5 separate regions of the Homo sapiens genome follow, and regions 1, 2, 4 and 5 are each linked to region 3. Evidence: promoter capture Hi-C in 16 types of primary human blood cells and fetal thymus (Javierre and others, 2016). All regions are on one chromosome and are shown on one strand. The core of a region is centred on a gene start or on the middle of the fragment in contact, and the rest is flanking DNA. Distances in the headings are between cores, read along the strand shown.

The links. The method cuts DNA at HindIII sites, captures the fragments that hold promoters and counts their contacts. A CHiCAGO score of 5 or more calls a contact.
Region 1: a contact is called between the fragment with the promoter of EIF4B here and the fragment with the promoter of KRT84 in region 3, in 3 of 17 cell types (erythroblasts, M2 macrophages and M0 macrophages). The highest score is 7.5, in erythroblasts.
Region 2: a fragment that was not itself captured here is called in contact with the fragment with the promoter of KRT84 in region 3 in 4 of 17 cell types (M0 macrophages, M2 macrophages, erythroblasts and 1 more); the score reaches 7.8 in M0 macrophages.
Region 4: a fragment that was not itself captured here is called in contact with the fragment with the promoter of KRT84 in region 3 in 3 of 17 cell types (M0 macrophages, M1 macrophages and M2 macrophages); the score reaches 8.4 in M0 macrophages.
Region 5: a contact is called between a fragment that was not itself captured here and the fragment with the promoter of KRT84 in region 3, in 5 of 17 cell types (M2 macrophages, M1 macrophages, naive CD8 T cells and 2 more). The highest score is 9.4, in M2 macrophages.

Annotation. Positions count from the first base shown.
Region 1 is chr12:53,004,115-53,008,570 of GRCh38, reverse strand. EIF4B (eukaryotic translation initiation factor 4B) reads right to left here and starts at 2,115. Exons shown (of 15, transcript NM_001417.7): 1 at 2,075-2,115. The coding sequence starts at 2,087. RefSeq lists enhancers at 1,257-2,000, 2,001-2,744. The HindIII fragment of the contact is 14,247 bases long and covers 1,484-4,456 here.
Region 2 is chr12:52,954,580-52,958,630 of GRCh38, reverse strand. No RefSeq gene overlaps it. Among named protein-coding and RNA genes, the nearest start is that of KRT18, 7.5 kb to the right of the region's middle. The HindIII fragment of the contact is 647 bases long and covers 1,283-1,929 here.
Region 3 is chr12:52,384,224-52,388,205 of GRCh38, reverse strand. KRT84 (keratin 84) reads left to right here and starts at 2,554. Exons shown (of 9, transcript NM_033045.4): 1 at 2,554-3,166. The coding sequence starts at 2,621. The HindIII fragment of the contact is 9,508 bases long and covers 1-3,982 here.
Region 4 is chr12:52,906,652-52,910,926 of GRCh38, reverse strand. It overlaps a transcript of KRT8 not described here. Among named protein-coding and RNA genes, the nearest start is that of KRT8, 3.7 kb to the right of the region's middle. The HindIII fragment of the contact is 1,829 bases long and covers 1,832-3,660 here.
Region 5 is chr12:52,923,062-52,927,635 of GRCh38, reverse strand. It overlaps a transcript of KRT8 not described here. Among named protein-coding and RNA genes, the nearest start is that of KRT8, 20 kb to the right of the region's middle. The HindIII fragment of the contact is 7,195 bases long and covers 1-4,574 here.

The DNA.
Region 1 (4,456 bases), core at 866-3,365, 620 kb before region 3:
AACAGTAAAAGAGGCGTATGAAGTTGTTTTATGTATTTTCACACAGAACACATAACATCCATTTCCCACATCAGGGAATACTGGTTACTTCACAAAGCCAGTGTGACTGGAAAGAGGAGCGGGGAAACAATCCGATAAACCCCAGATTCCTCAAGAACAGACTGAAAGATGTGACTTGTGCTCAGATACCAGTACCAGCTAAAAAGATTTACTGAAGTGAATTAAAGGAGATGAGGGTTTTCAAGGGGGTAGAGTAAATATGGAAGAACAAGAGAATGGGACGTCAGAGTAAATCCCTTTTATCAGTCTGGATTTCCCTCAACTCGGTAAAACGAAGGACATGAATTGCTGTCCTATGTTCCGCCTCTAAAAATTACACAAAAGTTAAGAAAACACAGATTTTCTTCACTAAATTACGATACTAAACTGTTAAGGTGGCAAATCCAGACCAAGTAAGTACTTTAAGCAATGGTTAGTTTAAAATATATTTAGGACTTTTACTAGCCCACTGGAGAAAAAAATATGAACATTTTTGTAAACTTCAGATGCTTTCGGGCAGCGTCCTAAACTGATGATGACACCTTGATACTTTTAAGTTGCTAAGGAGTCTCAAAGATTATGACCTTGCTCTGCCAGCTGAGAGCAGTGTGGCCTTAAATAATATTCCTTAGCTGAGAAATACCACTAGCTCTCTGCAGTACCTCAGGATGGAAGGAGACAACATGCACAAAAGTGCTTGGTCAACTGTCAAGCGTTACACCAATGAAAGATGTTCAAATGCACCTCAAATTTCTCAACATTTTCCAAAGCCAACCAAAACCCTTAGCTTCTTTGTAATAGAGACGATGAATTACTAGGTAAGAAATGAGCACCCAGAGATAGAAGTTCAAATAATGTTTTGAAGAATGCAAGGTCATGCCAGAGAAAACAAACTATATTCCTCAAACTAAAATCAATGCTACAAGATGTTGGGTCATCACTGCTTTTATAAGCCCATTAGAAATGTAATTAGACTTGCAAGGCACTGATACTCCCCTCCAAGGTTGTCTAAAGAAGTAAGCAACTCCAGCCATTAGTAAGCACTATTTTAAAAGTACCTGCTGGTAGTTGCACAGTTACCTTAAAAAAAAAAAAAAAAAAAAAAAAAAAAGGCTGAAATCTACCATTGGAGCTATCCAAATTCAACCAACATGGAAGCGCCGGAAGCGAAACCTGATCCTGGCATATAGCTGCGCTGAGTAAAAAATGCCTCCAATTGAGTATGAGAAAAAAGCCTAGAAGGAAATCTAGGTGCACACCGGTGCTTCTCCAACACGTGGGCGCACCTAACTGGATTCCCCACCCCCATCTAACGCCAATAGCACCAACCTCCAAGGCTAACACACACACCCTTAGAAGAATACAGGCACAGGGCCCACACTCTAGAAAGGGAAGAGACAACCTAAAAGGACATAAGTGCGCAACACAGGCGCGTTAAAAAGCTTCCCATCTGGGTTCTAGCGCACGCATTGAAGGCGCGCCCGTCTCTACTACCCTCGTGTCTCCTACCGCGCACGCGCACCGCTGCCTTCCCCCGCCCCTCCACCAACTCGCGCTCGCGTTCCAACTGCTCCCCCCCACCACACTTACTCCCCTACCCCCCACTCCGGTCCGCTACAGCCTCGCGCCTTGGAGACGTAGTCTAATGTGCACTCGTCCGCGCAGCAACCGCCTCCTTCCTTCCTCCACGCCTTCACGCGGGCACGGTGATTCACGTCTACGAAAAGGCCTCGCACCACCCGCACACCTTTCTGCGCCTCCTTCCCCAATTCAAGCCAGAGTCTACCATTACTGCCTATTCCAATCTCGCGCAGAAAGGGTGAAAAGAGTGTGAGGGGGAGGGGAAGGTGTCCTTCCCCTCCCCCCCAAACATCCAGAGGCAGTAACCTAACAGGGCCACGCCGCCAGCCTGCCGCAGCCCTCAATTCAGAAAGGAACCAGTGCCAGCAATTCCCCGACTTCAGGAAATCAGTGGATCACGCTCGGAGGGGGGTTTCAGAGCCCAGTCCTTGGCCGCGCTCGGCTGCTCGCTCACCTGAGGCCGCCATGTTGGGAGAGGGAAAGAGAACGCAAAAGACCCGGATGAGGCAATCACGTGATTATAGCGGGCGCGTCGAGCTAGGAGACGCGAAGCTGGGAGGGGGCGGGGAGGTGAGGACGGAGACAGGAGGCGGGGCGGCGCTGCTCTAGGTTCGTAAAGCTGCGCGGCGAGGTGGCACGCCGTCCGACGGGAAGACATGCGCGACATGTGGCCAAAGGGGCGGGGCCTGGGTTGTCGCGAAACCCCTCACGCTTTACGTAGGGCTACACGCGAGCGCGGGGCTGGAGCTGAGTCCTGGCCGGCCTCCTGACGCACAGACTTCCTGCCGGAAGAGTGGCGGGAAGGGCGGGGCTTCGCTGCTGCTTCTGCTTACTCTGCACGGAGCCGGTGATGGGTGTGGCGAAATGGATGTGCTGAAAGGGAAGATTCTGAGTTTAATGTACTTTTTTGAGACGGAGTTTCGCTCCTGTTGTCCGGGCTGGAGTGCAATGGCGTGCGCGACCTCGGCTCATTGCAACCCCCGCCTCTCGGGTTCAGGCGATTCACCTGCCTCAGCCTCTGGAGTAGCTGGGATTACAGGCGCCCACCACCATTCGCTGCTAGTTTTTTGTATTTTTAGTAGAAACGGGATATTTCACCATATTGGCCATGCTGGTCTTGAACTCCTGGTCTCAGGCTATCCACCCGCCTCGGCCTCCCAAAGTGCTGGATTATAGGCGTGAGCCACCGCGCCCGGCCTAGTTTTTAAAAGCCACATCAGAAATCACTGATTTTATTTTTATTTATTTTTATTTTTTGAGACGGGGTCTCGCCCTGTCTCCCAAGCTGGAGTGCAGTGGCGCGATCTCGGCTCACTGCAGCCTCAACCTCCGGGGCTCAAGCAGTTCTTCCACCTCAGCCTCCTGAGTAGCTGGGACCACAGGCGAGTGCCTCCAGGACCAGCTAATTAAAAAAAAGTCTTTGTGTGGAGACAGAGTGGCGGGCTTGGGGGGGGCGGTGTGTCTCCCTGTGTCGCCTGGGCTGGTCTCGAACTCCTGGACTCAAGCATTCCTCCCTCCGAGGCCTCCCACAGTGCCGGGATTACAGGCATCAACCACTGTTTGTTTTCAAATTACTTTTTGTAAAGGCAAAACAAATCGAACGTCTTGTGTAAGAATGGTTTTAATGAGGCATATTTAGACGGAATAAGAAGGTAACAAATGCTGAACACTTAATTGTCATGGGCTTTTACCTCATTTAATGGTCCAATTTGCTGACTAGGTTTAGTCCAACTTAGGCCTTTAGGATTTCTGAGACTAGGGCTATTCATGCTTCCCCTAGCTGATGTTCCATTTCATTCATTAAATGAAAATTTTTGTTTCCCACCGTGTGCCAGGCACAGACACTTGCGGGTACAACATGGAATAGAACTGTCCCAAAAGAGGTTATATTCTAGTGGGGGAAGGACAGATAATAAGCAACTAATAAAATATTACAACAAGTATTCTGTGAGTAATTAAAACAAGGTGGTGTAATAAGTTATTAGGTGCAACTTTAGATTGCCTGTCAGAGTAGACCTCTGAGGAAGTGACATTCAGACAGAGGTCTAAATTACAAGCTGCCATCCCTGGGAATGTCTTCTGAAGAGGTTTAGGAGAAGACAGGATGCGCAGTTGGGTTTGCTGCAATATGGTGAGGGCAGGGGAGGGAGGAGTGGTACAGGATGAATCTTGAGAGAGAGGGGCTGGATCATGTGAGGCTGATCATGTGAGGGGATTGGGAAAGTGTGGAATGATTTAAGGCAGAGAAATGTCATGAGTTGAAATAAAATTTTAAAAAGGATTACTTAGTATCCTGATGTGAGTGGTGGTTACATGGGTGTATATCTAGAATTCGTATACTTAAGATTTGTGAATACTTAAGATTTGTGTACTTTATGTAAGTCACGCGTTAATTAGAAAAAAAGAGATTACTCAGGCTACTGAATGGAGAGTGCAATTGTCAGAGGTGTTTGAACCGGAGCAACTCCTTGAATAGGGCTGGGTAAAATAAGTCTGAGACCTACTGGGCTGCATTCCCAGAATGTTAGGCATTCTTAATCACAGGATGAGACAGGAGGTCAACACAAGTTATAGGTCACAAAGACCTTGCTCATAAAACAGCATGCAGTAAAGAAGCCAGCCAAATCCCATCAAAACCAAGATGGCGACTAAATTGACCTCTCCTCACTGCTTATTATATGCTAAATATAATTCGTTAGCATGGTAAAAGATACTCCCACCAGGACATGACAGTTTACAGATGCCATGGCAATGTGAGGAAGGGGGAGGAACCCTCAGTTCGGGAATCGCCCTCCTCTTTCCAGGGAAAACATGAATAATCCACCCCGTGTTTCCC
Region 2 (4,051 bases), core at 357-2,856, 570 kb before region 3:
AATACAAAAAAATTAGCCGGGCATGGTAGCGGGCGCCTGTAGTCACAGCTACTTGGGAGGCTGAGGCAGGAGACTGGCGTGAACTTGGGAGGCGGAGCTTGCAGTGAGCCGAGATCGCGCCACTGCACTCCAGCCTGGGCGAGAGCGAGACTCCGTCTCAAAAAAAAAAAAAAAAAAAAAAAAAAAAAAAAAGGAAAGTTAACAATCCTTCCCTGCTTTCTTTGTAATTAGTAATAAGTAATTCAGAAGGTATAAAAGGACACACAATGTAAAGTAGTCTTCCTTCCCCCTTGTTTCCCCCCTACCAATTTCTCTCCCCGGAGGCAATCACGAATTCCAATTTCCTGTCTCCTTGTAGAGATGTTTGCATGTACAAGGGTATATACATATGAGTTGCTTTTTTCCCTCAAATGGCACTATATGCCATTCTGTATCTTCCAGTACCATTTATTAATTTTATCATCTGGGTTGGGTTGCACTTTGATAGAGAATGGATAAAATAGGACTGATATAATATGGAACAGATGACTCCATGTTATAACCTTGGGATTGATAATTTTAACCTTTGGTGCTTGGGGGACAAAATAGGCTGCCCCTCAGTCATCTTCCCATGCTGGGGAATGAGTAGGATTGTTCCAGAGGCCTCGGGATTTTCCAGCAGTGCGCTGTTTAAAATAGGCACAGCCAGCCTGGCACAGTGGCTCACACCTGTAATCTCAGCACTTTGGGAGGCCGAGGCGAGCGGATCATGAGGTCAGGAGTTCAAGACCAGCATGACCAACATGGTGAAACCCTGTCCCTACTAAAAATACAAAAATTAGCCAGGCGTGGTGGCGTGCACCTGTAATCCCAGCTACTTGGGAGGCTGAGGCAGGAGAATCACTTGAACCCAGGAGGCGGAGGTTGCAGTGAGCCAAGATCGCACCACTGCATTCCAGCCTGGGTGACAGAGTCTCATAAATAAATAAATAAATAAATAAATCTGACACAACCATAACCTGAATCAGGAAGGAATGTCATGCTGCAAACCCCAGGTACAGCTTGGGTCTGGCCCCCAACCTTGCCTGCCTATTGGAGTCACCTAGGGAGCTTTTCAAACATTTGCCCTGAGTCCTGCCCTCCAAACACCTGAATCAGAATCTCTGGTGCTGGGACCCAGGCCTCAGTATTGTTTGTAAAGCTTCCCGGGGATTCTATTGTGCAGCCCGCACAGTTAAGTTATAGCACACAGAGGAAAGACCTGCGGACTGGGAACCTGGAGATGTGGTTCCTGCTTTAAGCTTCCAGCTCTGTGACCTCAGACAAGTTGCATGATGCCTGTGGACCTCAGTATCCAACTCTCAGAGCCAGAGCCAATAATACCCACAGCCTTGCATACCTCACAGGATTGTAATGAGGATCAAATGCATAAGCACCCTGGGAACTGTGAGACATTGTCTAATGGGAGGGCTAATCGTATCAGGTGCATCGTCTTGGATTACTCTGATCAGCTTGACTCAGCTGCAAGTACTGCTCAGGCTCCCCAGGGACTTCCTGTTTTACCTTCAGTCAGCTGCGCATCCTATAACGTTGGCTGGTGTCTGTTTTTTGCAAAAACAAAGCTACTAAAGATCAAGATGGCCAGGCACGGTGGCTCACACCTATAATCCGAGTACTTTGGGAGGCCGAGGCAGGTGGATCACGAGGTCAGGAGTTCAAGGCCAGCCTGATCAACATGGTGAAAACCCCGTCTCTACTAAAAGATACAAAAAATTAGCTGGGCATGGTGGAGGGTGCCTGTAATCCCAGATACTCAGTAGGCTGAGGCAGGAGAATCGCTTGAACCTGGGAGGCAGAGGTTGGAGTGAGCCAAGATCGTGCCATTGCACTCCAGCCTGAGCGACAGGGTGAGACTCTGTCAAAAAAAAAAAAAAAAGAAAAGAAAAAGCTTTTAGGCTGGGCGTGGTTGCTCATGCCTGTAATCCCAGTACTTTGGGAGGCCAAGGCTGGTGGATTGCCTGAGCTCAGTTCGAGGCCAGCCTTGGCAACACGGTGAAACCCTGTCTCTACTAAAATACTAAAAATTAGCTGGGCATGGTGGCATGCACCTGTAGTCCCAGCTACTCGGGAGGCTGAGCCAGGAGAATTACTTGAACCCAGGAGGGAGAGGTTGCAGTGAGCTGAGATCATAGCACTGTACTCCAGCCTGGGCGACAGAGTGAGATTCTGTCTCAAAAAAAAAAAAAAAAAAAAAAAGATCAAGACATCCATTACTTAAAGACCTAGGTTAGGTTAATTAATTTGTACTCCACGCAGTAGAGTACTAAGCAGCTACTCAAATGAATGGGGCAGGTCTATGTATACTGATTCAGAAAGGTGTCCAAGATGTATTTTCATTTATTTTTATTTTTTGAGACAGAGTCTTGCTCTGTTGCCCAGGCTGGAATGCAGTGGTGGAATCTCGGCTCACTGCAAGCTCCGCCTTCCAGGTTCATTCCATTCTCCTGCTTCAGCCTCCAGAGTAGCTGGGACTACAGGTGCCCGCCACCATGCCCAGCTAATTTTTTTTGCATTTTTAGTAGAGATGGGGTTCCACTGTGTTAGCCAGGATAGTCTCGATCTCCTGATCTCGTGATCTGTCCGCCTCAGCCTCCCAAAGTGCTGGGATTACAGGCATGAGCCACCATGCCCAGCCCCGAGACGTATTGTTAAATGAAGAAAGTAGAATTTAAGAAATCAAAGCCAAGCATGGTGGCTCACGCCTGTAATCCCAGCACTTTGGGAGGCCGAGGCAGGTGGATCACAAGGTCAGGAGTTCGAGACCAGCCTGATCAACATGGTGAAACCCTGTCTCTACTAAAAATACAACAATTAGCCAGGCGTGGTGGTGGGTGCCTGTAATCCCAGCTACTCAGTAGGCTGAGGCAGGAGAATCGCTTGAACCCGGGAAGCAGAGGTGGCAGTGAGCCGTGATGGTGCCACTGCACTCCAGCCTGGGCGACAGAGTGAGACTCTGTCTCAATTAAAAAAAAATAAAAAAAGAAATCAAGATGCAGAGCTGGATAATTTTACATATATAAAACATAATGAAATGTGCTTGTATATGTCTAATTTTAAAAGGTATTTAACAGTGGTTACTTCTAGGGAGTGGAGAGGGGAGATTTTATTTTATTTAGTTTTATTTATTTATTTATTTGAGATGGAGTCTTGTTCTGTCACCCAGGCTGAAGTACAGTGGCGCGATCTTCACTCACTGCAACCTCTGCCTGCTGGGTTCAAGCAAATCTCCTGCCTCAGCCTCCCAAGTAGCTGGGACTACAGGTGTATGCCACTACGCATGGCTATTTTTTTTTTTTTTTTTTTTGAGACAGAGTCTTGCTCTGTTGCCAGGCTGGAGTGCAGTGGCTCGATCTCGTCTCACTGCAACCTCCAACTCCTTGGTTCAAGCGATTCTCCTGCCTCAGTCTCCCAAGTAGATAGGATTACAATCATGCGCCATCACGCCTGGCTAATTTTGTATTTTTAGTAGAGACAGAGTTTCTCCACTCCCAACCTCAGATGATCCACCCACCTTGGCCTCCCAAAGTGCTGGGATTACAGGCATGAGCCACCATGCCCAGCAAGATTTTAAATTTTATTTCATATATATGTGTGTGTGTGTGTATGTGTGTATGTATATATATATATATATGTATGTATATATGTATATATATACATACACACATATACACACACATATATGCACATATGTATATACACATATACACATATATACACATATACTCATATATACACATATACTCATATATACATATATACACACATATATACATACACACACATATATATATTATATATATATATTTTTTTGAGACAGAGTTTCGCTCTTGTTGCCCAGGCTGGAGTGCAATGGCATGATCTCGGCTTATTGCAACCTCCACCTCCTGGGTTCAAGCGATTCTCCTGCCTCAACTTCCCAAGTAGCTGGGATTATAGGCATGTGCCACCACACCCAGCTAATTTTGTATTTTTAGTAGAGACAGGGTTTCACCATGTTGGCCAGGCTGGTCTC
Region 3 (3,982 bases), core at 1,305-3,804:
GGTCAGGGAAGAGGGAGGCACACTGCATAGTGTCTTACAGGGCATTGACTCTGAATGGGTGGGAAACCATGGGAGGAGTTTCGGCATGGAAATGGCATGATCTGACATGTTTTTAAAGGATCACTCTGTGCTGCTAAGAAAAGCCTGAAGGGGCAAGGGAGGAAGCTGGGAGACCAGCTGGGAGTGTAGTTCAGAAGATCCTGTGGGAAGAGATGGGCCTGGGCCAGCATGGGAGCAGCAGGATGGTGAGAAGGAGTAGGAGTCTGGATATATTTTGAAGGGAGAATTTGCCAATGAATTGAATGTGGGAAAAGGGAAATAAAAAACAGAGGACAAAAGGATGACTCCAAGATTTCTGGCATGAACTATTGCAGAGATAGTGATGTTGGCAAGTGGAACATATTTAGCAGGAACAATTAGGAGAACAGTTTTGGTCATAAAGTCATCCCTCTGTATCTGTGGCTCCCACCTTTGTGGATTCAACCAACTGCAGATTGAAACTCTTAAAAAAATTGCATCTGTGCTGAACAAGTACGGACTTTTTTCTTGTCAATAAAGTATAACAACTATTTACATAGCATTTACATTGTATTAGGTATTATAATCCAGTGATGATTTCAAGTATACAGAAGGATGTGTGTGGGTTACATGCAAATACTACACCATTGTATATCGGAGGCTCGACGAACATCCATGGATTTTGGTATCCACAAGGGGTCCTGGAACCAACTACCTGGGGATACCAAGGGACAACTGTATTAAGTTTGAGATGCCTATCTGATATCCAAATAGAGATGTTGGTTAAAATATATGTGTGGCGTTTAGGGGTAGGGAGGTCTGGGATAGAGTTGTGCCTTGGCAGTCATGAATGAACAGATGGTATTTAAAGTCCTGAGTCTGTATAATATCACCAAGGCAATGAGTCTAAAGAAGAGAATAGATACCCAAGGATTGAGCCAGGGACTCTGCAGTGTCTAGAGGTTGGGGATATGAGGAGGAACTGGCTTAGAAGACTGAAAAGAGTGTGGCAAGAAATCGAGAGAGTGTAGTGTCCGAAAATCAAAAGAAGAGCGTGTTTCAAGAGAAAGGGCATGGTCAGCTATGTGAAGAAAGTGAGAACTGAGGACAGACCATTGAATTTAACATGGAGGCCACTGGTGGTCTTGACGAGAAGTATGCACTTCTTATTGTTTTTCTGCTTCATTTCCCCCTTAGACATACAGCTGATAGCTGGAAAAAGAAAATACCGCACAAATGAGCTGGATGCTTCTGGTCAAAAGCATACATCCCCTTCCAAGTGGAATTGCAAGCATCCCAAAGAATCTCAAGCGTCCAGTCAAACATGAGTTCCCCTGGGCAAAGGATGCACTAGAATAGAAAAGGTAAACACCAGCCTGGCTCAGGGTCCTAAAAGAGCTGCAATATTGCTAACAATGATAATATTCAGCTGCTGAGAACTTTTCCTTTTCTATCCAGATGTATATTGCTTTGTGTCTCTCTATCCTAACCAAAGATTCATCAATAATTCAAGGAACCTAAATGGACAGGCCCATAAATCACACCTATGGTATATTTGGGGGCTAAAAATCATGTAGTTAGCTTTCTATACAGAAACTTTCCAATGCTTTGGCCTCAAATCATGCCACAAAGTGTTGACTGCTGGAAATCCTCAAGATAAATGTTCTGCTGGGCATGGTGGTGGATGCCTGTAGTCCCAGCTATCTGGGAGGCGGAGGCGGGAGGATCACTTGAGCCCAGGAGTTCAAGACCAGCCTGGGCAACTAGATCATGTCTCTAAAAAAAAAAAAAAAATTTAAGATAAATCTTCCCCTACTACCATGAAGATAGAGACTGTCTTTGTAATCTCTGTACCCTCAGCAGCAAGCACACTGCTGGATACATAGCAGGCACTCTAAAACTGTAGAATGAATGAATATCTCTGAGTGTCTCAAATCACAGATGTGTCTACACTAGCCCAAATGAGCTTTACTGTAGATTCAACTCTTGTATACTAAACAGCCATATTGGATAAAACATGGCAGAAGGTTTTTTGATGATTTAATTGATTTGCAGAAATGCAACAAACTGTATTTTCTCCATATCACTTCTTACTTGGAGATGTGCACACACTCCCACCTCTTTAGGGGGTTATATCTTCATGGATGCATCCCATGTGAGCCTCTTGCTGGAGCTGTCGCCATCCTAACTTTCTGGTGGTTAGCCACACTCACAGTGAAAAAACCTATTGCATTTATGACCAAAGCAAATTAATGTCCCCTTAATGGCAATTGTGGTAGACTTATAGGGAAAAAAAAGACTATAATGTTTATATGTTTATGTGTTTTTAATGTTTATTGGTTTGCTGTTACAGCCCTCATCCCAATGAGACTAGGTGTGTCTGAGTTAACTCATTGTCAAGGAGGTTATAGGCATGCAGAGTTTCTGCTAACTACCCAAGCTCATAAATGCCTGCAAATGGATTTTTTCATTTTTATGGGGCCAAGCCTCAGATCACCACACACATAAAAGGGGTGCAAGGGTTCCACTGGCCTCAGAGGGACTCCCAGCTCCAGCTCACCCATTCTACACTTGCTCTTTTGCTCCCAACCAGGAAGCCATCATGTCTTGCCGCTCCTACCGAGTCAGCTCTGGTCACCGGGTGGGCAACTTCAGCTCTTGTTCAGCAATGACACCACAGAACCTGAATCGCTTCCGGGCCAACTCTGTCTCCTGTTGGAGTGGGCCTGGATTCCGGGGCCTTGGCAGCTTTGGTAGTCGGAGTGTCATCACCTTTGGATCGTACTCACCCCGGATAGCAGCTGTAGGCTCTCGGCCCATCCACTGTGGAGTCCGCTTTGGTGCTGGCTGTGGGATGGGTTTTGGTGATGGGAGAGGTGTTGGTCTGGGGCCTAGGGCTGACAGCTGTGTTGGTCTGGGCTTTGGAGCTGGCAGTGGCATTGGCTATGGCTTTGGTGGCCCTGGCTTTGGTTACAGAGTTGGAGGGGTTGGAGTCCCAGCAGCCCCATCTATCACAGCTGTGACTGTGAACAAGAGCCTACTGACCCCCCTCAACCTGGAGATTGACCCCAATGCCCAGAGGGTGAAGAAGGATGAGAAGGAGCAAATCAAGACCCTCAACAACAAGTTTGCCTCCTTCATTGACAAGGTACCTATGATAGCTGAATCTCTGGGTCTAGGAATATTACAGCCAAAATGCGCTAGAGTGCTCTTTCCCTTAAAAAGAACTGGCCCGGTTCTGGGGACTTGACCTTGACCTCAGATCTTTCAAGTGCCTACCTCAGGCATTGTGGTATGCTTTATGGGTTGCTCTGCTGCAGAGCAAGGCCAAGCCAGAGGACGAGCTGCATGGTGGGATAGATTCCGACAGTGTTGATATCTTCTGGAGGACAGAGGAGCATCCAGCCAAACTCGAGGGCATCTCGACAAACTAAGATGTTGCATCTGGTCACTTAGAAATGTCTCTGAAACAGGCTGGAAACACTGGGACTTTAGCCAGGTGTTGGCTGGTATATGCTTAAGAGGTTTTATTCTTTGAGATCCTTTTGTTCCTTATGAAGTTTTCATAGTTTCTGAGGCTGAGTGGCCTCATCTATTCAGGCTTAGAAAAGTAGAGAATGGAGTTGAGTAATTAAAAAAAGAAGAAGAATTCATACCCCCACATGGGGTATCAAAATTCGGCCAAGTTGCCTAGATTCAGGGAAATTGCAGGGAATGACCACTGGTAGTCACTGGCTTCCAGGCAGATGAGTGGGAACAGTGATGTGGATAACCCAAAAGAACTGACATCCCACACACCATGTCTATGTGGAGATGGAATGGTTATGTCTGAGAATGAAGGATAACCTCTGTAAGTTTTGGGTTCTTCCTCTCTAAAATGAGGGGCTGGGGTAAAGGGTCTGTAAGTTCTCTTCCAGCTCTACACATAGCCAATGGAATATCTGCGATGTTGGATAGGACTTAC
Region 4 (4,275 bases), core at 1,497-3,996, 520 kb before region 3:
AAATGAAAAGGTGAATACAGGAAGGAATAAAGGCCTCTAGTCCCTGTCCCCAACTCCCACCTTAGTCCTCAGGTTGCCCAGCAGGAAAATCAAAACAGTGGGCCTCTGGATATCAGCTCCAGTGCTAAGCAGCTCAGGCCAGGGGAATCCTCAGGGCTGGGGTGGGGGTGGGCAGGATGCCTATAGCGGAGCCCCAGGTCCTTCCTGTTTGTTCTTTTCCTGCACTCCTGTCCGGTTGCCTGAACACCATGAGGGCTTCCCCTATCGCAATGTCAGCTTCTGAAGTTTCCTTGAAATCCTCTCAATAACTTCCACTTCCTGTCACTCAAGTCCCCAGTACCGCTGTCTTCACTGTCAGGAGTGGGACCCATTTGTGTCTGTCCTCTCGCAGTCTCTGTCTCTGTCTCTGTGGCCCTGGCCAACGGTGGTGGAGTTTCAGGTTCTGGGGACTGAACCACTCTGTTTTCCTTCCTGAGGGACAGAGTATATCACCCTTTCTAAGCAGGAACCTGCAGTGCTGTGGATTTGAGCTCTGGCCTATTTCCTCTGGGAAGAGGAAGAAAGTGTGTTCCTAAAGGTCTTGGTGTTGGGACCAGAGCTAAAGCCTGGTGCCTGACTCTGGCTGTACCGAGGAAGCTTTGAAAATGCAGACGGGGTGCGACCTGAGCACGTATACTGTTATAATCTCCCACGGGCGATCTTGATGTGATGGAGAACCAGAGTTAAGGGGAAGGACTCTGTGGACTGAGCCATAGCTGGGACCTTCCGCCTAGGCTTCATGCTCACCCAGTGGGATGACCTTCTTGGTTTGGCATCAGTGGAGAGGAGGGTGAGAGAATGTTGAAAATGTGAGAAAGGCTGTGTGCAGTGGCTCACGCTGTAACCCTAGTACTTTGGGAGGCTGAGGCAGAAGGATTGCTTGCATCCAGGAGTTCGAGTCAGGCTGGGCAACATAGTGAGATCCTGTCTCTAAAAAAAAGAAAAAAAAGTGTGGGAGACCTCAACATCTTCAGGCTGCTGGGCTTGTGTCTCCTTCCTCCACAACAAGGCTGTGCTGTCCTCCCTCACTCTTGTTCTAATAATTTCTAATCATATCTCTTATCACAAGCAAAATTTCAAACCAGAGAACATTCACAGATTTTCATCTTCAGTGCGTAAAGCTCTATGGTGGTGGATGTGGATCAAAAGCTTTCAGAGTTGGCGGGACTTGGACATTCTAATTCAAACCCTAGCAGATGTGAGAACCCCCTCCCACTGAGCCAGTGGACAGCTGGTGAGCAAGGTCCCTCTCCATGTCTCCAGGTACAGGAGGTTGCTCCCTCTCTAGGCAGTCCATTTCCATCCTGGCTGGCTTTAATCATCAGATCCATCACTGATCAAGAGCAAAAAAGTCAGCATTTGCTAAGCTTTGACAATGAAAAATTTTAGCCTTGAGGCACATAACACAAAATTAGCAATCGAATTGACTCTATTATTCATGATGCTGCTTCCTGAGGGGTGTACCCACCACCTGTGGCTTCCTATTTAAACAAATTGTTCTGCTGTCTCTATGCTAAATGCAGCTATTTCTATACCAATAATAACATTTCAAAATGCTCCATCATTTAAAGGGATTTCGGGTGCTTTTCGGGCATTGCCTTAACCCAGAGGCAGGAAGCCTCTTTACCTGGGGCATCTAAACAAACTCTTTGCTTCTTTCCCCTGACCCCTTATGCTGGGCACAAAGCCCCTGCTTTTTATATGTAGCTCATTTATGCTTTTGTGGTTATCTTTTTGTTACAACTTTGTTGAGCTGTAATTCACATACAATATAATTCAACAATCTGAAGCTTGCAGTTCAGTGATTTTTAGTATGTTCACAGACTTGTGCAGCTTCACCATCATCAAATTTGTTTATTTATTTATTTATTTTTGAGACAGAGTTTCACTCTGTCTCCCACGCAGGCTAGAGTGCAGTGGCACAGTCTTGGCTCAATGCATGCGGCCTCAACTTTCGGGGCTCAGGTGATCCTCACAACTCAGCCTCCAGGGCAGCTGGGACTACAGGCGTGTGCCGCCATACCTGGCTAATTTTTGTATTTTTTGTAGAGACGGGGGTCTCATTATGTTGCTCAGCTGGTCTCAAACTCCTGGGCTAAAGTAATCCTCCTGCCTCGACCTCCCAAAGTGCTGGGATTATAGGTAGAGCCATTGTGCCTGCCCACCACCATCAAATTTAGAACATTCTCATCACCCCAGAAAGAAACCCTGTGCTCTTTAGCATTCATCTCCATTCCTCCCCTCCCTAGGCAACCACTAATCTACTTCCTGTCTCTATGCTTTGCCTGTTGTGCACATGTCATATAAATGGAATCATAGGGTACCTGATCTTCTATGACTGTCTCCTTTCACTGAGCATACGGGTTTCAAGGCTCATCTGCATCCAACATGCATCAGTAGTTCATTCCTTTTAATTGTAACATTAGATCGTATGGATATGCCACATTAAAGAAATCCATTCGTCATTTGGTGGACATTTGTTTTGTTCCCACTCTTTGGCTATTATGAACAAGGTTGCAGCGAATGAGATCATCAGTCCTGATCTCTAAGCAAAACTTGTTCAGATCCCGGGAGGCGGAGCTTGCAGTGAGCCGAGATTGCGCCACTGCACTCCAGTCTGGGTGACAGAGCGAGACTCCGTCTCAAAAAAGAAAAAAAAAAACTTGTTCAGACCATCTCTTCCCATGATCATGAGTGATGATAACAGCTACCTCCCCACCCCACTGGCCCCAAGACTTAATGCCACTGCTCAGGGTCTCAGGGCCTTCTCTGAATTATCCTGCACCATCAGAAGTAGGGGGCCTGGCCCTCACTCTTGGCCCACAGGGAGTGAGTGTCTCCTCCTTCCCTGGTTCACTCTCCAGGAAAGGCGGTTTGAGGCAGAGTTGTCTGGGTAGGGCAGGCACCGCAAACACGTTGTTCCCTTTTGTCCGGCAGGCAGCTGTGTGTAGACCACAATGCCTTACAAGGAGTTGTACCTGTGGGCCTGCTCCAGTCTGGTTCTCTCTTCCCTCACCACTTGGCCCTAGTCCCAGGGGCCTTCTCCTTCTGCCTTTAACCCTGAAGTCCCAGGCAGGGGCCATCAGAGAGGCCAACTCTGGCCTCTTCTCCTGCACCGAGGCTGTGCTTGGGGCATCTGGGGGAAGGTTTGGCTGGGGTCTCTGGGCAATAGAGAGATGACAAATGAGACACAAACACTTCTGGCCCTAGACGGTTCTGGGCTGCCCCAGAAAAAAAGGGCTTCCCCTGGCTGGGTAAGGTCTGGGTCAGCCCTCCAGCCTGCATACTGCAGGGTCCCTGGCAACCCCCTCTGTCCTCACCTTAAACAAGGGACACTCCTAGAACCAGGGAACCAGAAAGGTGGGGTGGAGGGGACTGGAATTTCAGGAAAGGCTTTGGGGTGCTGTTTTTTTGCTCCTTGTGCTGCCTAGATCAGGACCTGAGTGCCCCCTGCTCCCTCTAACAGCAGCGTGGGGGAGGGAAGATAGGGAGAGCGCCTGTCCTCCCTTTCCAGGGCTGCCATACCCGTCTGACCAGCCCCTCCCTCCCTCCTTCCGCCTTCCCTGTCCCAGGTTTGGCACTGGGCCCAGTCCTTCTCCCTTTGGTCTTCTGTTAAAAGCTTCTCAGCCCTGGTGGGTGCGGGTGTTTGTTGGGGAGGGGGTAGCATGCCTTCCAATCACTCTTGGGAAAATTAGGCATTGTTTAAAGGAGCTGGGAGAAGGCCTGGTGTAAATAGGTGCTAACTGAATTTCCCTTGCTCCATTCAGCATAGCAGGAGGCAGGGCCTGGGGAGGGGAGGGGAGGTGAAGGAGCCACTCACTGTGCCCGCTCTTGGGATCTATGCATTTTTCTGGAAGGGACTTCAATGTGTGGGGTGTGTGTGTGTGTGTGTGTGTATGCACGCGTGCATTGTGAAGAGAGCTTGTCTGTGTGTCTGTCTTTTTAAGTTTGTCTGTCCTCCAAGGAGGGGGCTTCTGGGTCTCTCTGTCCTTCTGGGTAGGGGTCCTATGTGCCTGTCTTTCTGTGAGCCTGGGTGTCTCTCCTAGAGAAGGATGGGGAAGAAACTGTACATCTGTCCTCCCAGTAGGTGGTCACCCCCTTCCCTGGGTCAGGGCTATGTCACCTGTCCCTCTCCTCAAGGGGATCTGGCTGTCATCTGTTGGTCCTCTGAGTTCAGTTTCATCCAGTCCCCACATCACACCCTGCAGTATCTTCCAGAGAACCCAGCCCCAGCCA
Region 5 (4,574 bases), core at 997-3,496, 540 kb before region 3:
TGCTCAGTCAGAGAAGGCCTGGCTGGCATGGTGTGGACAGTGGCCCAGTTGGCAGGCAGGCAGCAGGGCCCTCGCGACTCCACCCCTGGCCAGGACCTTTGCTCCCAGCCCTGATGGCTCTGGCCTTGTTGCCATGGCCACCCCTTAGTTTGGGACAAACAGAGCTCTTCCTCCTCCTGTTCAGCCTCCTAACACCCAAGTGTCTCCCTAGGGACAGGCAGGAATTCCAAGTGTCCAGGCTCCCCACCCTTTCCCCAGGGGAGGCCCAAGGGTGGTGAGTCACTGAATCTGGGCCCCTCTTCACCCTCTCACTGTTCTCTGGCTTGTCCTGCTGCTCCCTTGGGCCCACCTATTTCCTGCTGGAGTTGGGGAGGGGTGGAGAGAAGGACTGGAACTCTCCTGGGTCTATCAAACTGAGTGGTGGTGAAGGTGAAGGGGTCTTCCTGTCCTGAATCTCCTCCCTGGGGTGTGTCCAGGCTGTGGACACCCTTCTGAGGCTTAGCTCCCATCTCTGGTATCCATGAAACAATCACAGCTTCTTTCCTCCCTTGGGGGGAATCCTTGGGGTCCAGGGTAAGGGACAGAAGATAGGAAAAAAGCAATGTGGGAGAGAGGAGATAGGGTCAGAGTAGAGAAGAGGACTCATGGGATAGAATTGAATCATTCATTCATTCATTCATTCATTCATTCATTCATTCAGTGAATCAAACAAGTTCCTGTGCTGGGTGTGGAGGGAAGCAGAAACATGTATAAGACACGCCCCTACTTTTGAGGAAGATGCCTTGGCGCTGATGTGCGGGCCCTGGACTTAGGGTACAGGACTCCGGTTTGAGCTCTGACTACTACTTGCTGGGCACATTACTTCTTAGAGCCTTGGATTCCTCATCTGTAAATAAGGATAAGAAGACTGAACTCCCAAGGTCCTTGTGAGGGTCAAATGAGACAAATATGGAAAATGCCTCATTAATAGTGGATGTTCAGTGCATGCTAAATGACTGTGGATCAGGTTTACAATCAGGGAGGGGAGCTCAGACATGCCCACAGCAAGTGTAACCCAGCCCAGGGGTGTAACAAAGCCCTATTCTTGGGGTCTCTATAGGAGTGGCCACTTCCGGCAGAGGTGACTGGGGCAGGCTTTGTGGGGAGGTGCCTGATGCATGATTTTCATTCAGCAAATGTTTGCGGAATGAATGGGGTGAGCTGGAGCCAGGACCTGCAGGAAGGGTAAGGTTTCAACAGGTGCAGGTGACAAGGAGGTGCTTCAGGAGAGGAGGGCACAGTCCTGGGGGTGGGGTGGGGAGGGCAGCTAGTGCCAGGTGGGGAAGGCTAAGCCTCAGCCACCAGATGAGGAATTTGACCTTTATTCTGAAGGCAACGGGAAGCTCTGGGCTAGGGAGTGACAGGATCAAAGCAGTGTTTGTAGAAGATCAGTCTGGCTGGGCACTGGAGAGGATACCTGAGCGAGCAGGAGAGGTGGTGGGGGGCGGGGGGCAGGGACACACCAGGCAGAGGGACAGTGTGTACATGTCTAGAAGTCTCAGGACAGGCAATTATGTCACCCCCTTCCACTCTGCAGAGGGGGCCTCTCGCACCAGCCTGTCTCCAGGGCAGGTCTCACCAGCCTGCTAGGAGGGAGCTTGAAAGGGAGGTGGGGAATTTCTCAGGGACACAGAGAACATGAGAACACTGCCTCCTTTCTCCTCCTTCCTCCCCTACCTGGGGCCCAGCTCAGAGTAATGGGCCCTGAGGGGGAGAGAAACGCAGCCCTGGAACTGGAACCTGGGTCCCTTTGTTGGTAGGCTCCACCTCCTGTCCTCTAAGATAGAGGGCTGGAAGAGACAAAGAAACTATTAGGCCCCATTAAGAACTGTGCATAAACCCTAGAACTCAGGAACAGAGGGATAATTGAGGTGATAGTATTGCCCAGCCCTGGAGCCCAACTTTCCTTGAAGGGGAAATTTCTGGCCTGGGGCTGGCTGGTAGGAATCTAAAGCCTTAGCCTTTGTGGAGATGAATCATCCTAATCTATCTCTTTGACCCCACCTCCGCCAAAGAGATCCCTTTTGCTCCAATCTCATTCCTGAATGTGCCACACTTCAGGTATCAATGGGGCAAGGCCAGGATGACGGAGGGGGATACCTGCAGGGGAAGAGGTGTTGAGCAGGTTTCTGAAAATGGTGACCATTTCAGACCCTAAATGGCGCCATTCATACCTAAGTGCTGAGTGGTCTCACAGTTTTAGGTATGCTTCGGGGCCCACAGTCTCTCCCAGCCTCCAGCCCTGACTCAGCCTGAGCCCCTGGGAGCCAGAGATAGCTATCCCAGCTATTCAGAGGAAGGAGATAAGGTTTATGGCTCTGGACAGGCTCACCCTGGGGAGACTGTGCATACACACCTCCTCCAGCTGCATTCCTCCCGGTCCTGACCTTGTCTTACTCAGTCTTTTCCTGGAATTACTACAGGAAATAGTGAGCTGTCTGAACGCACCATTTTCAGAAAACTGCCTAGCACCTCCTCCCCTGAAGGTATCCCCTCAATCATCCCGGCCTTGCCCCATTGAGGTCTATACAACATCTTTTTCTTGGCTTCTGGGCAGGCCTGATCCCATCTAGGACCAGTGAGAAGGGGGCCCAGCCCTGTTCCTTTTCCACAGACGCATCCTCCCCATTCCTGGTCACTCATTTCTGCTCCAATGACTCCTTGAATTAGTAAGTCCTTCCTTCAGTCTACCCTTTCACTCCCTTTCGGTGCTTAGTTAAGGAGAGGATGCTCCTCTGTGCGTTGGCTGTTGCCGCAGACCACAGAGTACAGCTGAGGGTCCACTTCACTCCAGGAGCCCTTTAGCTGAGGGGAGGAAGGCAAAAGACAGAAGGAACGGTGAATTCTTAGAGAAGAGTGCATGGTCTTTTCCCATCACAGTAGTGTCCTATACAGTAGTGTCCTATACAAGCAATTATCTTTACAAATTACAATTATCTTTACAATTATCTTTACAAACATTATCATCATATAATTTATTTTATTTTTAAATTTTTATTTATTTTTTTGAGACAGGGTCTGGCTCTGTCGCCCAAGCTGGAATGCAGTGGCCTGTCATAGTTCACTGCAGCCTCAATCTAATTTATTTTACATATGAGAGAACAAAAGCTGAGAGCCCAAATCAAGTATGATTTTTTTTTTTTTTTTTGAGACGGAGTCTCCCTCTGTCGCCCAGGCTGGAGTGCAGTGGCGCAATCTCAGCTCACTGCAAGCTCCGCCTCCCGGGTTCATGCCATTCTCCTGCCTCAGCCTCCCTAGTAGCTGGGACTACAGACGCCCGCCACCATGCCCGCCTAATTTTTTTGTATTTTTAGTAGAGACAGGGTTTCACCGTGTTAGCCAGGATGGTCTCGATTTCCTGACCTTGTGATCTGTCTGCCTCAGCCTCCCAAAGTGCCGGGATTACAGGCATGAGCCACTGCGCCTGGCCTAATGTATGATTTTAAGTATAATGCTTTTGGCCGGGTGTGGTGGGTGGCTCACAACTCGGCTCATGCTGAGGCAGGCGGATCACCTGAGGTCAGGAGTTTGAGGCCAGCCTGGCCAACATGGTAAAACCCCGTCTCTACTGAAAAAATACGAAAATTAGCCAGGCGTGGTGGCGGGCGCCTGTAATCCCAGCTACTCGGGAGGCTGAGGCAGGAGAATCGCTTGAACCCGGGAGGCGGAGGTTGCAGCGAGCAGTGATCATGCCACTGCACTCCAGCCTGGGCGAGAGCGAGGCTCCGTCTCGAAAAAAAAAATATATAATGCTTTTCTCACTACACTGCAAGCACTTTAGGCAATTCAAAGCTCTAAAATCCATATTAATTTAAATGTAATAATACAGGTAATTTTAATAATTTCAAAAATTAATAATTAGTAATAAAAATAATTTAGAGCCGGGCGTGGTGGCTCACGCCTGTAATCCCAGTATTTTGGGAGGCCGAGGCGGGCGGATCACGAGGTCAGGAGATTGAGACCATCCTGGCTAACAAGGTGAAATCCCGTCTCTACTAAAAATACAAAAATTAGCCAGGCGTGGTGGCTGGCGCCTGTAGTCCCAGCTACTCGGGAGGCTGAGGCAGGAGAATGGCGTGAACCCAGGAGGCAGAGCTTGCAGTGAGCTGAGATTAAGCCACTGTACTCCAACCTGGGCAACACAGCGAGACTCCATCTCAAAAACAAAACAAAACAAAACAAAACAATTTAGGAATAAATGGTCCTGCCCCTTCATTATATAGATGAGGCAACTGTAGCTCAGAGAGGAGCAGTAACTTGTCCAATGTCACACAGCAATTTAGAGACCGAGTTGAGACTAGAACACAGGCTATTTGATTTCCAAACTTATGTTTTCCTGCTACTGCACATTCTTCTAGGAATAGTCTAAAACAATTCTCAAAACAAAAATTTAACTTAATTTCATTTAATTTTCATCATAAACCTTAGAACGCTTTGATTTTAATCACACATCCTAGAGCACTTTGGAGGTAGTGGTAGGAATTTGCAGAAGTGCAATGATGTGAGGGAGGGTCAGTTCACAGGACGAGTGGGAG